Regions from separate parts of the Homo sapiens genome. Here all the other regions are linked to region 2. The links are contacts of gene promoters, found by promoter capture Hi-C in blood cells and fetal thymus (Javierre and others, 2016). All regions are on one chromosome and are shown on one strand. Each heading gives the region's core, a stretch centred on a gene start or on the middle of the fragment in contact. The rest is flanking DNA. Distances are from core to core; before and after follow the strand shown. Region 1 has its middle 5.5 kb from the start of CST9. Region 2 holds the start of THBD (thrombomodulin). Region 3 has its middle 7.9 kb from the start of CST3. Region 4 has its middle 67 kb from the start of LINC01427. Region 5 has its middle 43 kb from the start of LINC01427.

Region 1 (2,700 bases), core at 23-2,522, 560 kb before region 2:
CGGTTTTTGTCCCCCAAAAGGAAGTATTATCTCTGGCATGGATTTACTGCTTAAGGTTTCAAAATAAGTGCCAGTGTTGGAGATTTGAGGTTGATCTCTAAATAACACTTATTGAAGAAGTGGAAAATTTGGCTGAATCAAAGGAAAACTATTGCAAGAAAGCCAAAAGGACTCTGAATGGAATCAGTTCCAGGAGAAAGCAGCCGTTGTCCATGCCTGGACAACCACTAAAGAAGGCAGAAAGAACACGTTTGTCAAATTGGCCAAGTCTAAAGAGAATGTTTTCAAAGAAGTAGAGGTAAACTTTGCCCAAAAGTGTCAAAATGAAAAGTATTGAGAACACTGTGATCAGTGTGCATGAAGTGGTCAGAGGCAAGACAGCCCCAAATACCCTCTACAGAAAGGCTCACAGTGACAAGGGGCCATTGTGACAGAAATTAGAGTGGTTGGAACAAAAGGTTTTGAGGGTCTCAGCTGATGATTACATTTGGCACTTATCCCTGATTTTATTTTAAAATAAAACTTGCTCCCAATAGAGAAGAAGAGGAGCCCGGATGCTGTTTTGACTTCAGAATGAGGATGGGGGATAGTGGGTCTTCTAACAGCAAACGGTCAAATCATACTGTAAGGGGTCACACAGTGTCACTGTATATGATCTCTCAGCTAAACTTGATCCAAAACCATAGGTGAGGAAAGGGGGCTTAGGAATACTGAGGTGCACCAGGTTTCCCAGCTACAAGGCAGAACACAAGGACGTGAGCCCAAGCATCTCAACACTTTAAAATGAAGCTTGGGAACGTGAGTTTGGTTGTCAGAGCCTTTCGAAGAGATAATCATTATATTTAATTATCCAGAAGATACTCTCTTGAGTTCTGATCCCAACCTGACTTGGACCAAAAGTCTAAACTCAAAGCCAAACAGTAAAATGCAATCCCATTTCCATGCCCTGTCTACACTGTCCCAGAGAACCTGGTAATTGCTGACAAGCCATAGAATCCTCTGCTCCTCCTTTTTGCCTGCCTACCCCTGGTGGGAGCTTGGACATTTGGGTCCCTCCTCATCTCCTCTGCCACTTGACTGCTGAGAAGGTTGTCATCAACAAGCCTGGCTCATGAGGGATGTTCCCCCCAGAACTGGTGATGAGAATGAGCAGCACAAACACCATCTCCTGAGGGCCTGGTCCTGCTGGGCCTCCTGCCAGTGCCTTCCATACATCTCCCCATTCATCTTCATGACAGCTCCATGAAGGAGAAATCACAAGAGTCCAATTGCACGGTTGTGGAAACAGAAGCTCACATAAAGTAGAAATGTGCCCCCAGGAAATGCAACTAGTAAAAGGTGCAAATGAGACCTGAACTCACATGTGCCCAACTCCAAAGACCTCCTCAACTACTGCTTTGCCTCCTTCCGTGGAGTCTATAAACCATACAAGTCATCTAAAGACTCCAGCCTCTACAAATGGAGCCAATAACAGTACTATTTCCTTGCAATCAGTCAAGATTGCCCCACTTATCCTGTCTCCAGTTCTGCACTCCCGCCTCTCAGTGATAGACACCTGGTTCCTCCCGTTACTCTTCAGGACAAGTGCTTGTCTGCATCAAAAAGGTAATTTCAACTTCCCAGGAAGACAAGCTGCCCGCAAGAACAAATCTCATGTTTCCAAAGAATGAAGGAAGGGCACGGTGAGCTTGCAGGGTGAGGTGCTTGTGACGATAACAGTAGCATCAATAATCATGGCCAATACATGAAGCTTTTCCGAAAAGCTGGGATCCAAAATCAGACTATATGCCCCAAAGAGAGGATGTTAGTGCAAAGCAGCAGCCCGATGATGGGAGGGTGTGGCAGGGAGTCAGGGGCTAGAACCAGGGAGCAGACCCATCTATTCTAGCAGGTAGGGCCCAGGAAGTGTGCCTAGGTCTGGGAAGTGCCCAAGAATTTTTCTTCCTTTCCTGGCCAAGATCAAACAATGACCTTCTTAGCTCAGGCCTGTGCCTCCTTCATACAGCCAGTACAATAGAAAAGAGGCTCAAAGGCAACCAGCCTTTTGGGGAAAGGGGACTACGATAGAAATGCTGTTGGAATCAGAGGGTGGAGAATGAACTGCTCCATCGTCAATGCTGGAAAAGCCAGCTGTGCACGCAGGTGGTGGGGCAGACGATCGATCCTGGGATTCCAACCTCACACCACACACACTTAGCCTCCAGTTGGATCGCACACATAAATGTGAAAAGCAAAAGAAAGAACATGGTGAAACAGAACATAGAAGAGCATAGGAAAGGATTGTTGAAATGAAAATTACAAAAGCACATACCCTAAACAAAACATTGATACATTAAACCGTCTTCAATTTTTAAGAAAAATCTATATGGTGAAAGAAATCAGGTTGCACGTGGTGGCTCATGCCTGTAATCCTCGTACTTTGGGAGGCCAAGGAGAGAGGATCACTTGAGCCCAGGAGTTCAAGACCAGCCTAAGCAACATAGTGAGACCTCCGTCTCAAAAAAGAATAAAGAAAAGAAAATCATCAGCACAGCTATCCCTAATAAAACTGAAAGGAGGTGATCTCATATGTCTGCAATTTTCTTTCTGGTGCTGACCCTAGAGAAGCTGTCATACTTGTGCACATGAAAACCAGGACAAAAGTGCCCGTTGCAACCCCAATTTAAGAGGAAATGAGTGGAATCAACCCAGTGTAAAATC
Region 2 (2,700 bases), core at 136-2,635:
GAGCTGCCCGGGAACGGAGCTTCCAACCCCAGAAGGAGGACTCTGTGCTCCTACACCTTAACCCTTTTTAGCCCGAAACTTCTCCAACTTCCTTGGCTTTGTTTAGAGCTCGACAGCGCCGCCCCCTGGCGCTCGTTGTGAGGACAGTAGAGGAGAGAGGCAAGGGTGTTTTTAAACAGTTTGCCTCTCACCATTATGGGGGCGACCCGAGGGGGAGACCCACTCTTCCGCATTCCCGGTAAGTGAACCACCGGAAGAGGTCGAAAGTGACGGATTCCCATGTCCTCCTCCAGCCCCCCCCCCACCCTGCCCATCCACAGGACGGTGGCTCTTCAGTGCCCTTTGCCGAGCAAGTGGCGTTTCTATGCACGTGGGTATCAATTCGGACTCTGGACGAAATGGAAACCTCCTTAGCCGACCCGGGTGGGATCAGCTGGGATCCTGCGCGCTCCCCTGGGGGGTTGCCAGCCACTCTGTTGGGGTGCAAGAAGCACCATCCTTCGGAAGCTGGGCCGAAACTGGCCAGGCTGACTCGCTCCCACGCGCCCGCCCCTACCCGGCGCCGCAGCAATTCACCTGCCACCGCCTCTGAGCCGGGTCCGGACTTCGGCGCCCTGACAGTGTCCCCGCGACTTCCCCACCCGATGAGATGGGGTCTGGCGTTGGCCAGTGCGTGTCCAGGGACTCGCGGGTCCCTGGCCAGCCATGGGGCAGAGGGCGCTGGTGTTAGGCCAGTCTTCCCCACCCTGCCCCGTCACCCCAGCCACACCCACTGTCCTGTGAGGCCAAGCGCGCTCCGCTGGTTTCCTGAGCCAGGCACCTTGGCCGCGGACAGGATCCAGCTGTCTCTCCTTGCGATCCTGTCTTCGGGGAAGTCCACGTCCTAGGCAGGTCCTCCCAAAGTGCCCTTGGTGCCGATCACCCCTCCCAGCGTCTTGCAGGTCCTGTGCACCACCTCCCCCACTCCCCATTCAAAGCCCTCTTCTCTGAAGTCTCCGGTTCCCAGAGCTCTTGCAATCCAGGCTTTCCTTGGAAGTGGCTGTAACATGTATGAAAAGAAAGAAAGGAGGACCAAGAGATGAAAGAGGGCTGCACGCGTGGGGGCCCGAGTGGTGGGCGGGGACAGTCGTCTTGTTACAGGGGTGCTGGCCTTCCCTGGCGCCTGCCCCTGTCGGCCCCGCCCGAGAACCTCCCTGCGCCAGGGCAGGGTTTACTCATCCCGGCGAGGTGATCCCATGCGCGAGGGCGGGCGCAAGGGCGGCCAGAGAACCCAGCAATCCGAGTATGCGGCATCAGCCCTTCCCACCAGGCACTTCCTTCCTTTTCCCGAACGTCCAGGGAGGGAGGGCCGGGCACTTATAAACTCGAGCCCTGGCCGATCCGCATGTCAGAGGCTGCCTCGCAGGGGCTGCGCGCAGCGGCAAGAAGTGTCTGGGCTGGGACGGACAGGAGAGGCTGTCGCCATCGGCGTCCTGTGCCCCTCTGCTCCGGCACGGCCCTGTCGCAGTGCCCGCGCTTTCCCCGGCGCCTGCACGCGGCGCGCCTGGGTAACATGCTTGGGGTCCTGGTCCTTGGCGCGCTGGCCCTGGCCGGCCTGGGGTTCCCCGCACCCGCAGAGCCGCAGCCGGGTGGCAGCCAGTGCGTCGAGCACGACTGCTTCGCGCTCTACCCGGGCCCCGCGACCTTCCTCAATGCCAGTCAGATCTGCGACGGACTGCGGGGCCACCTAATGACAGTGCGCTCCTCGGTGGCTGCCGATGTCATTTCCTTGCTACTGAACGGCGACGGCGGCGTTGGCCGCCGGCGCCTCTGGATCGGCCTGCAGCTGCCACCCGGCTGCGGCGACCCCAAGCGCCTCGGGCCCCTGCGCGGCTTCCAGTGGGTTACGGGAGACAACAACACCAGCTATAGCAGGTGGGCACGGCTCGACCTCAATGGGGCTCCCCTCTGCGGCCCGTTGTGCGTCGCTGTCTCCGCTGCTGAGGCCACTGTGCCCAGCGAGCCGATCTGGGAGGAGCAGCAGTGCGAAGTGAAGGCCGATGGCTTCCTCTGCGAGTTCCACTTCCCAGCCACCTGCAGGCCACTGGCTGTGGAGCCCGGCGCCGCGGCTGCCGCCGTCTCGATCACCTACGGCACCCCGTTCGCGGCCCGCGGAGCGGACTTCCAGGCGCTGCCGGTGGGCAGCTCCGCCGCGGTGGCTCCCCTCGGCTTACAGCTAATGTGCACCGCGCCGCCCGGAGCGGTCCAGGGGCACTGGGCCAGGGAGGCGCCGGGCGCTTGGGACTGCAGCGTGGAGAACGGCGGCTGCGAGCACGCGTGCAATGCGATCCCTGGGGCTCCCCGCTGCCAGTGCCCAGCCGGCGCCGCCCTGCAGGCAGACGGGCGCTCCTGCACCGCATCCGCGACGCAGTCCTGCAACGACCTCTGCGAGCACTTCTGCGTTCCCAACCCCGACCAGCCGGGCTCCTACTCGTGCATGTGCGAGACCGGCTACCGGCTGGCGGCCGACCAACACCGGTGCGAGGACGTGGATGACTGCATACTGGAGCCCAGTCCGTGTCCGCAGCGCTGTGTCAACACACAGGGTGGCTTCGAGTGCCACTGCTACCCTAACTACGACCTGGTGGACGGCGAGTGTGTGGAGCCCGTGGACCCGTGCTTCAGAGCCAACTGCGAGTACCAGTGCCAGCCCCTGAACCA
Region 3 (2,700 bases), core at 43-2,542, 580 kb before region 2:
GTAAACAGCAGATGAAATAGAAATCTTAGAAGCATTGATGGGACTGAGGCTCAGCATTGGCATCCAAGATGGAGTCTCCACAGGAGACCGCCCAGAGCCGCTCCAGCTGACACCCACAGCAGATTTCCATAACCATAGGTCAGTTTCAGGATCTCAGTCCTAAATCTGGCTTGTTCTTTTCCATTTTTTTAATTACTCCATTTTAAATATAATATTTTTGTATCTTTTAGGTAATATTTTTATATCTTTATTCTTTATTCCCCCAAAATTTTGTTTTCTAAATGTATTTCTTCCTCCAAATGAAACTGTTTTTTCAGGTTCAATAAGTAGAAATATTATGTTTTTTTAGGAAAAAAAATTGACAACGTTTAACATTTGAGCCTTTCATTTTAGAATACCATGCATCTTGCAATACCTTCCTGCTTTTCTGATGGTATTCAGTAGAATAAATTTTATGCATCTTTCATATTTTCTGTGAAATTTATTCCTGGATATTTTATATTTTGGTCAGGGATATTTCCAAGTATTGTACCTCTAGTCTTTACTGATAGACTAGTTAATAGTTCAATAGAAGACTATTGAGTTTGCCTTTTTTTTTTTTTTTAACTCTGCCTTGGTGGTTTATTATTTATGGACTTAGAGGCTTGGGATGTTGCCACCCATGTGGCTGTGAGAGACAGAGGAGAGCTGGCTTATGATTGGCTGACGGGAGTGACCTTGGACTAGGCCACAAGCCTCCCTAAAAGATGTAGAGAGAGCAAATCGCCAGCCCTGTCCCATAACTCCAGGGCGAAGCTGGAGAGACGAGGCCCAGGAAGACAGCAGCTAGTCACCCCTTCCTCTCCTTATGCTCTGCTGTGCTGTCTGAGTTCACTGCTCAAAGACACAACACTGAGAAGCCATGAACACAATGGTGACTAAAATAGGGAACAGACATTCCTTTAATTACCCATACCTGCTCTCACCCTTGGTGCTGGGATGCCAAGTGGGTCACTTCCAAATCCTGTCACCTGAGGCTTATGGGGTCGAGTCAGATGTGCTCAGGCCACTGTGACATCAGCTGGGGCTCTGGCTCCCTTGAGACCAGGTCAGGCTCATCTGAACTCTAGTCTCAAGCTTGGCTGTACATGGCGTCACTGGGGAGCCTGGCTGCACATGGCAATCCCATGATCCCAGTCGGAAAAGTTGATCGTGTTCTGGGATGGGACGTGGACATTGGATGTTTAAATACTCCTCCCATTGCTTCCCCAAGGAACCACTGGACTATAACTCAATTAGAGTCCTGGTCAAAGTCCAGTTGCTCCTAAAACATCTGCAAATTGCAGCAGGTAAAGATAGTCTCATGGTCACATCTGCCTGTGGACACACTTTCCGTGCCAGGTATCTCTGCAAACGTGTAGCCCTTGATTTCCAGTAAATGAAACTCAACAAAGCAAAAGCAAACGGAAATTCCTTCCACCAAAGCTTTGTTTGGGGCAATGAAATTTGTCGGTGATTTCAGGAAATCACCTCCTGCCCTGTGGAACAGTAACCCCCACTTCCTCAAACCCAGCACTGGGTATTTCTGTCCTTGAAATGCCCTTGGCTTCCCTCCCAAAGGTAGTTGCCACTTGACCTTCACATTCCACCCCCTCCCCCCCCCACCAGTCACTGGCCTGATTGTTCCCCTGCCTGCTCTTCGCCGTGGCATTCCCCATCTGTCCACGCATCCTCTCCACTGAGTCCCTCAGCAAGTCCAAAGGCTCCTTTGTGGGGTAGAACCACTCAGCTCTTTGTAGACTTCCCCACACCCATCAAGGTGCTTATAAACCAAAGGCCTTCCTAGTGAACAGGACCACCTTCTTTGTGAGGGACTTGAGATCACTAATAGCAACAGTTATTTATTTATCTATTTATTTTACCCAAATCCAGGACCCTGATGAAAAGACTGAGGAAAATGCTGCCTTTCCTGAATGGCTACCAGGCAGGGAATGATGCTGGGAAGTGTTTACCCCACAGGCTCTGTGCCTTCTCTGACTGGGCAGCTCATGCTGTATGCATGGAGGCATCATTACCAAACACACCTCTGAGGCCAGCGGCCAGCGTCTGACTCACAAGCCATGACTGCCCCACCTTCTTACAACAACAATAGCAGTTTCCCCGTGAGGATTCACCCCTCCTCCCCTCTCACTCCGCCTTTTTCCAGGGAAGCTGACTCTACCCTTTGGACCACAGCTTGGAGCACTTGACCCTGGCTAAGCTGGTCAGGGCAGCGGGTCTCCCTCCCCTGAAGCCTCATGATTGGCATGAGGACAACACGTGACCTATGTGTGGCTGCCCAGGACCCACATAGGCTTAACGGTGGGATTTTGTTTGACTGTGTGATAAGTGGGTTCTTCCTTCCCTGCTGAGTGTGAAGATAAAAAAGACTTGAGGTCTGGGGCCCACTTGGAGCCTGTTTGAGAATGAAGCCAAGTTATGGGAAGCAACAAAACTGAAGAGACAGCAAGGAAACCAGGCCTGGTGGTGCACTCCCAGCTATTCTGGAGGCTGACGCGGGAGGACTGCGTGAGCTCAGCAGTTTGAGGCTGCAATGAGCCATGATTTCACTACTGAACTCCAGCCTGGGCAAAAGAGCGAGACCCTGTGTCTCAGAAAAAGAGAGAGAGAAACAGAGAGCAAGGAGCAGGTGGGTTATAATGGAGTCCCTGCACCAAGCAG
Region 4 (2,700 bases), core at 43-2,542, 700 kb after region 2:
ACCTGGGCAGCTCACTCTGTCCTCCGAGCGGCCTCTTCCTCTGTGTTCTGGCCAGACTCTAAGACCAAGCATTCGTCATTGGACAACACTTCTTTTCTGAGGATACAAGGAATAGAAATGATAAGATTTGCAATGTTCATCCATCCTTTCAGTCAACAGCCCAGCCATTTCACTGGCTATGCAAAGAGGCAGAAATATCGCTGAATGGTGAAAAACAGCTCCCCCATATTCAGCAGTGTCTGCTCTTCATGGCTCTGAACCATAGGATGGAGAGGCAAGGGTGAGCAACGGAGTCTTTATCCCTCCCCTCATGGAGTTTACAGAAAAAAGTTCTCCCTGTCGCTGTTCAGTCTGTGAATAGTAACCACTGCCTCTTCTGGAAGCTAAATAATTTACTCCTTTTGACCTTCACATAGAAATCTCTTCCAGCAAATCCCTTAGAATTCCATAAAAGAAACTTTATGAGTGAAATCCATCCAATAAATTCTCAATGAGCCAGTCATGGAATCATGAAACCGCTTAGGTGCCCAGCTTCCTTCTCTGCAGAGGAAAAGAAGGTTTCCTTGTGCTTGTCCCTTCCTTGGGAAGCCCAGCTCCTAGTGAGTGGGCAATCCGTTGCCAGCCCAAGCCAACACTCAGGGTACAGCCTGATTTCCACTCCCTTGAAACATAAACCTCTCTGTTCAGCAGCAGCTTCTGGCTCCAGAGTCTTTTTATTTCTCCAAACTGCTGCCTCTGTTTGGATGAAATAGCATTTTAACACATCTGAATTTTCTGTTTGAGGTATATTTTCAGACATGGAATAAAAAAAAAAAACACTTCCCTGCTCAATATATTTTTCTCAGAGTCATTTCGAAGATAGTAAGACAGATGTATTTTTTATGCCAAAAATAATTATCTCTTCCTATAAATTTTTTGGGACTGGATTTCAGGGTCTTAATAGCTTTCTTGGGATCCTTTGTATTTAGAGAATTTCTTCATGGTGACATTCCAAGTTAGTTTTTAAATCTATCAGCTATAGCAGAGGTGGAAAAATTGTGGCCCCTGGTGTAACTAAAGTTTCACTGGAACACATCCATGTATTCAGTTATAGATTGTCTATTGCTACCTTTCTGCTACAACAGCAGAGTTGAGCGGTTGGGACACAGACAGTATGACCCACAGAACCTAACAATTTCCTCTTTGGCCCTTTACAGAAAACATCTGCCGACCCATGTTGTGTAGCCGAAAAGCCAACCTCCCATTCCCTGCGTATACCATGTTCTCATTCTCACACTAAGTTTTCCACATTCATTTACTGTTCTTTTCAGCTCTTTTTTCTTATTCATCCTGGAGCTTTGGTTCATGATATTCTAAACACGGAGCCTCCTGCCTTTCCCAAAATGATTACTGATTCTACCCCAGCCTTCAAATTCAACTTATTGATGACTCTGCAGTGATGGAAGTAGTATGAGAAACCTACAGTCCCCAACCCCGTGCTCCACACTGGCTGTATTTTCTTGCCCAGAATATGAATATATTTTTAGCATATCTATGCCTTAGAATCTTTCCAGATTAACACATTCTTTAATCACTATCTCACGAATTTAATTTTCCATCTTGCCCTGTGCTAGATGCATTTCTAGGTGTTTTATGCTCCAAACACAGTTTATCATCAGTGCCTCCATGGCACTCCAAAGTTGGATTATTAAGTCCACTCTGTAGATGCCAGACTGAGGTGCAGGGGGTTAGGTAATTTGCTCAAGTTTACAAAGCTAGTAATTGGTGGAGCCAGAATTTAAAGTCACTCTTGCTCCCAGTTGCCTACAAAAAATCTTCATTACATTGCATTGCCAGAAAACACTAAAGAGTAAATTATTTTTACTATTCTAGTGGAAATACTTCTAAAATATTCTACATACTTCTCTGCCATTTCAATTAGATCATATTGAACATAAGTTAACCTCTTCAGGACTAGTTAATATCATAGCTATTATAAATGTTATAGTGGTATAGAAGCATTTGAATCTACAAAGTGACTTACTGGCTGCATAAACTTAGGCAACTAACAGCCTCTCTGAGGTTCAGCTGCCTCATCTGCACAGTGAAGTTAGTCATATACTCACAAAAGATAACATAAAATGCCATGAATGAATCAGGCACAGAGGAAGGATGCACTAGGTGGTTATTATTATTAGATTATTGGATTATTGAGGATACTCTTTAACTTGGCTGCCTGAAGACCATTTAGACTTACTTCCTCAGTGCTTAGAACTACTGCCAAGAACATCAAACAAGTTTAAGTGATAAACTGATATTTGCACTCCTGCGGCCTATCTCTGGACTAGATTGTGTCTTGTTGGAGTTCAGTGCCTATGATCTGTATATTTTCTGCTGCAGCTGGTATCTCTAGTACCGAATATTGTTTCATGAGGATTTACTCTGGCTGTTGATAGAGACAGAAAGTCTTGTCTTTAGCCCTGGCTGTCACGTGGACAACAGGCATAGATAACAACAGTCAGTCCCAGTGTCTAGCCAGCCTCAGCTCTCCATGGGACTGCCTGGGAAATAAGCAAATACCCATAATTTTAATAACACCCGAGTTCATCAGAAAAGTGTGAAAGGACCAGCATCTTTGCATATTGATACAGTTTCATGTGGCCTCTCCAGCAGAGAGGTAGGTCCAGGGCCACTCTGTGGATACTCTTCCTTAAGGGTGTG
Region 5 (2,700 bases), core at 183-2,682, 720 kb after region 2:
AGTTGACCCAGATCCTCATCTTTCTAAATTTCTTGAGCTCTTAGCTGCAGGTACCCTCAAATCACATCCAGTCCATCTGGTTCCCACCCAGACCAACTGAACCCAGTCTCCCGGGGTAGGCTCTGGAGCCTGCAGGGTAATTCATACACAGGTGATTTCAATGAGCTGCCAGGGTTAGAAACCTCAGGACTAGTCCGTGTCCTCATTTTAGGTATGAAGAGATAGAAGCTCAGAGAGCTGAGGGTTCCATGGCAATAACGGTGGAGGTAGGAATTGAGAGCAGGAGCCTAGTCCACAATTTAGTGCCCTTTCTACCTCGCCTGACATACCAATATCAATGCCAAGTCAGTTACTGCCATCACAATACCAATAGAACTATATCAAAAGCTTACAGAGGCATAGAACATTTAAGGCACTCATGAATTTTGCAAGATCTCAGTAGAATTCAAAATAATAATGACAATGTTATGGCCCAATATGACCTAATACTGGAGATAATATAATATACAATAAGATCAAAGAATTCTAAGAACAGAATGGAACAACCACAAAAAAAGATAAAGCCCAGGAACATCTTCAAGGTAGGCATAATCATCAACCAGCCAGTCTCCATCTTTGATAAGCCAGGGTGGAGATGTAATTATGTGCAGAAGAAAGGATCTGGTCCATGCATAAGTAGAATCAGCCTGGTGGTAGAATGGGTAGAACAGGGCTTCCCTTGAAATGGAGTTATTTATGTTTTCAGTTTATTTATCATGATTTAAATGTAGTCCTGTTGCAAGAAAGAATTCATTTTTTAAAAATAATTTAAGATTCCTTTGACCTCAGGTAAGGGTTTCTTATAGAAAAATACTGCACATTCTGTTTTATTCATATGAAGCAAGTGCAAATTTCCAAAGTGTTTCCAATTTATTTGGGACTTTTTCTGAAAGAAAAGTTAATTGACTGAAGGGCAAGTTGTTGCATGAACCTCTCTGTAGACTCCACTGGGCCACATGGCTTTGCATGTTCCATAGCAGCCAACCAAGCCTGGCTTCTAATATCCATGTAGAGGGGTTAGTTGTCCCCCACACTGTGATATATGAGGAAAGATGAAAATATACATTTACTCAGCTCTTCCTTGTCAGACATTTACATATAAGTGACTTTTGTTCACACACACATTCACTCACTTATCCACCATTAGTTTTATTAAACAATTTTTTTTTGAGAATCTATGATGTAGAAACATTGTGTGAAAATAATACAGGCAAGACCCCCATCCCCACCTTGCTTATAAACTTACACTAGTAATGATTTACCACACCTCTGCTAAGTATTACCAGGAGCAGTGCAGGGTGCCATGGGAGCAGGTAACCAGGAGGCCTGGCCCACTGCAGGGATCAGGGGAAACTGCATGGAGGTGAGGGATTTGCAATAAACTGAAAGATGGACAGAATTAACTGGGTGGAGAGTAGAGTGGGTGCTGTTGGTTTGTAAGAGCACTCCTTAGGAACGGTGATGATGGTCTCTTCAGGAACCCTGCTCCCGCCATCTGGTTTCCCCATGAGAACCATATTTCTATGACCATCTTGACCACTGAGTGATAATCTTAGGAATTCTAGGGGTTAGAAGGGAACTGTTCTCAAATATATACCTCATTTTTCCCATTTATAATCTTGCTATCACAGCTACGCACATCAAGAGACTTCCAGTTTCTTGGATGGAATGCTTTGAATTGATTTACTTGCTTGTGGAAAGGTGGTATAGAGAACAACTTAATATTTCTCAACTAGACAAGATTCCATTTGTTCCAGTCTGTCCTTACATGTTGTATAAATGTAATACTAAATGGCCTGACTTTTAAAGTTTTATGAAGGAGGGGGAAAGTATCACTATGATAGTTAACACCACCTGTTTACTCAGGCATTATATTAACAGGCAACTCTTAGCCTCCGATGAACATGAAGGTATCTGATTAACTTGGGCATTGACCAAACCTCCTAGGACAGATTTGGGAAATTCAGTTGTAGACAACTGGCTTTGAGAATAACTGATTACCTGTAGACCTATTTGGAATAATCTTTCTTGGTGTGATATCCTAAGGATCCAGACAAGACTTGGTAAATTTGGGTGCCATCAAAGTTACAAAATCAATGAATCCAAATTTTGTGAGGCTTATTATAATCTGCCTAATGCTTCCATCCAGTTCCCCCCTGTGGGTAGAGTCCATGAAGCAGAGTCTACTTTATCAATGTTCGCCTGGGCACAAGTGCCAGTGTGGATGTGGGTGACTTTGAGATTTATGTGTCTGTGAGCTGAATAAATGTGGGAAAAGGCAGGAGCAAGGTGTTGAACACAGGGGCCCCCATCACTATTACTTAGGAGTGGGTGCTCTCACAAACGAACACCATCCACTCCACAGCACCACTAAGGCCATACCCGACCAATGCACCAATTTCTGGGGCATCAAGGTTTCAGGTCTTGATGAAAGCTTTAGAATCACCTCTTTTTAATTCAGGTGACTGATGGATTCTCTAGCTTCAAGAGAAGTCCAATTTCCAGTTGGTTAACTTGAGATAGAAAAGTGTGTTATTCTAACCTTACCCCAAGGTCCTGAACACACAAGTCCTTCTTTCTCCTTTCTGAATCATAAATGTGCTCCACACCCTCAATTCTCATATGAGAGATCCATGACTGTGCAGCCACCCATAACATAAT

The links. The method cuts DNA at HindIII sites, captures the fragments that hold promoters and counts their contacts. A CHiCAGO score of 5 or more calls a contact.
Region 1: a fragment that was not itself captured here is called in contact with the fragment with the promoter of THBD in region 2 in 3 of 17 cell types (M0 macrophages, M1 macrophages and M2 macrophages); the score reaches 7.0 in M0 macrophages.
Region 3: a contact is called between a fragment that was not itself captured here and the fragment with the promoter of THBD in region 2, in 1 of 17 cell types (monocytes). The highest score is 6.0, in monocytes.
Region 4: a fragment that was not itself captured here is called in contact with the fragment with the promoter of THBD in region 2 in 2 of 17 cell types (M2 macrophages and M1 macrophages); the score reaches 9.4 in M2 macrophages.
Region 5: a contact is called between a fragment that was not itself captured here and the fragment with the promoter of THBD in region 2, in 1 of 17 cell types (endothelial precursors). The highest score is 5.2, in endothelial precursors.

The regions. Positions count from the first base shown.
Region 1 is chr20:23,610,097-23,612,796 of GRCh38, reverse strand. No RefSeq gene overlaps it. Among named protein-coding and RNA genes, the nearest start is that of CST9, 5.5 kb to the right of the region's middle. The HindIII fragment of the contact is 961 bases long and covers 792-1,752 here.
Region 2 is chr20:23,048,357-23,051,056 of GRCh38, reverse strand. It overlaps THBD (thrombomodulin), which reads left to right and starts at 1,385. Exons shown (of 1, transcript NM_000361.3): 1 at 1,385-2,700. The coding sequence starts at 1,553. The HindIII fragment of the contact is 6,749 bases long and covers 1-2,700 here.
Region 3 is chr20:23,628,677-23,631,376 of GRCh38, reverse strand. It overlaps a transcript of CST3 not described here. Among named protein-coding and RNA genes, the nearest start is that of CST3, 7.9 kb to the left of the region's middle. The HindIII fragment of the contact is 348 bases long and covers 1,119-1,466 here.
Region 4 is chr20:22,347,980-22,350,679 of GRCh38, reverse strand. No RefSeq gene overlaps it. Among named protein-coding and RNA genes, the nearest start is that of LINC01427, 67 kb to the right of the region's middle. The HindIII fragment of the contact is 3,014 bases long and covers 1-2,700 here.
Region 5 is chr20:22,324,674-22,327,373 of GRCh38, reverse strand. No RefSeq gene overlaps it. Among named protein-coding and RNA genes, the nearest start is that of LINC01427, 43 kb to the right of the region's middle. The HindIII fragment of the contact is 2,086 bases long and covers 390-2,475 here.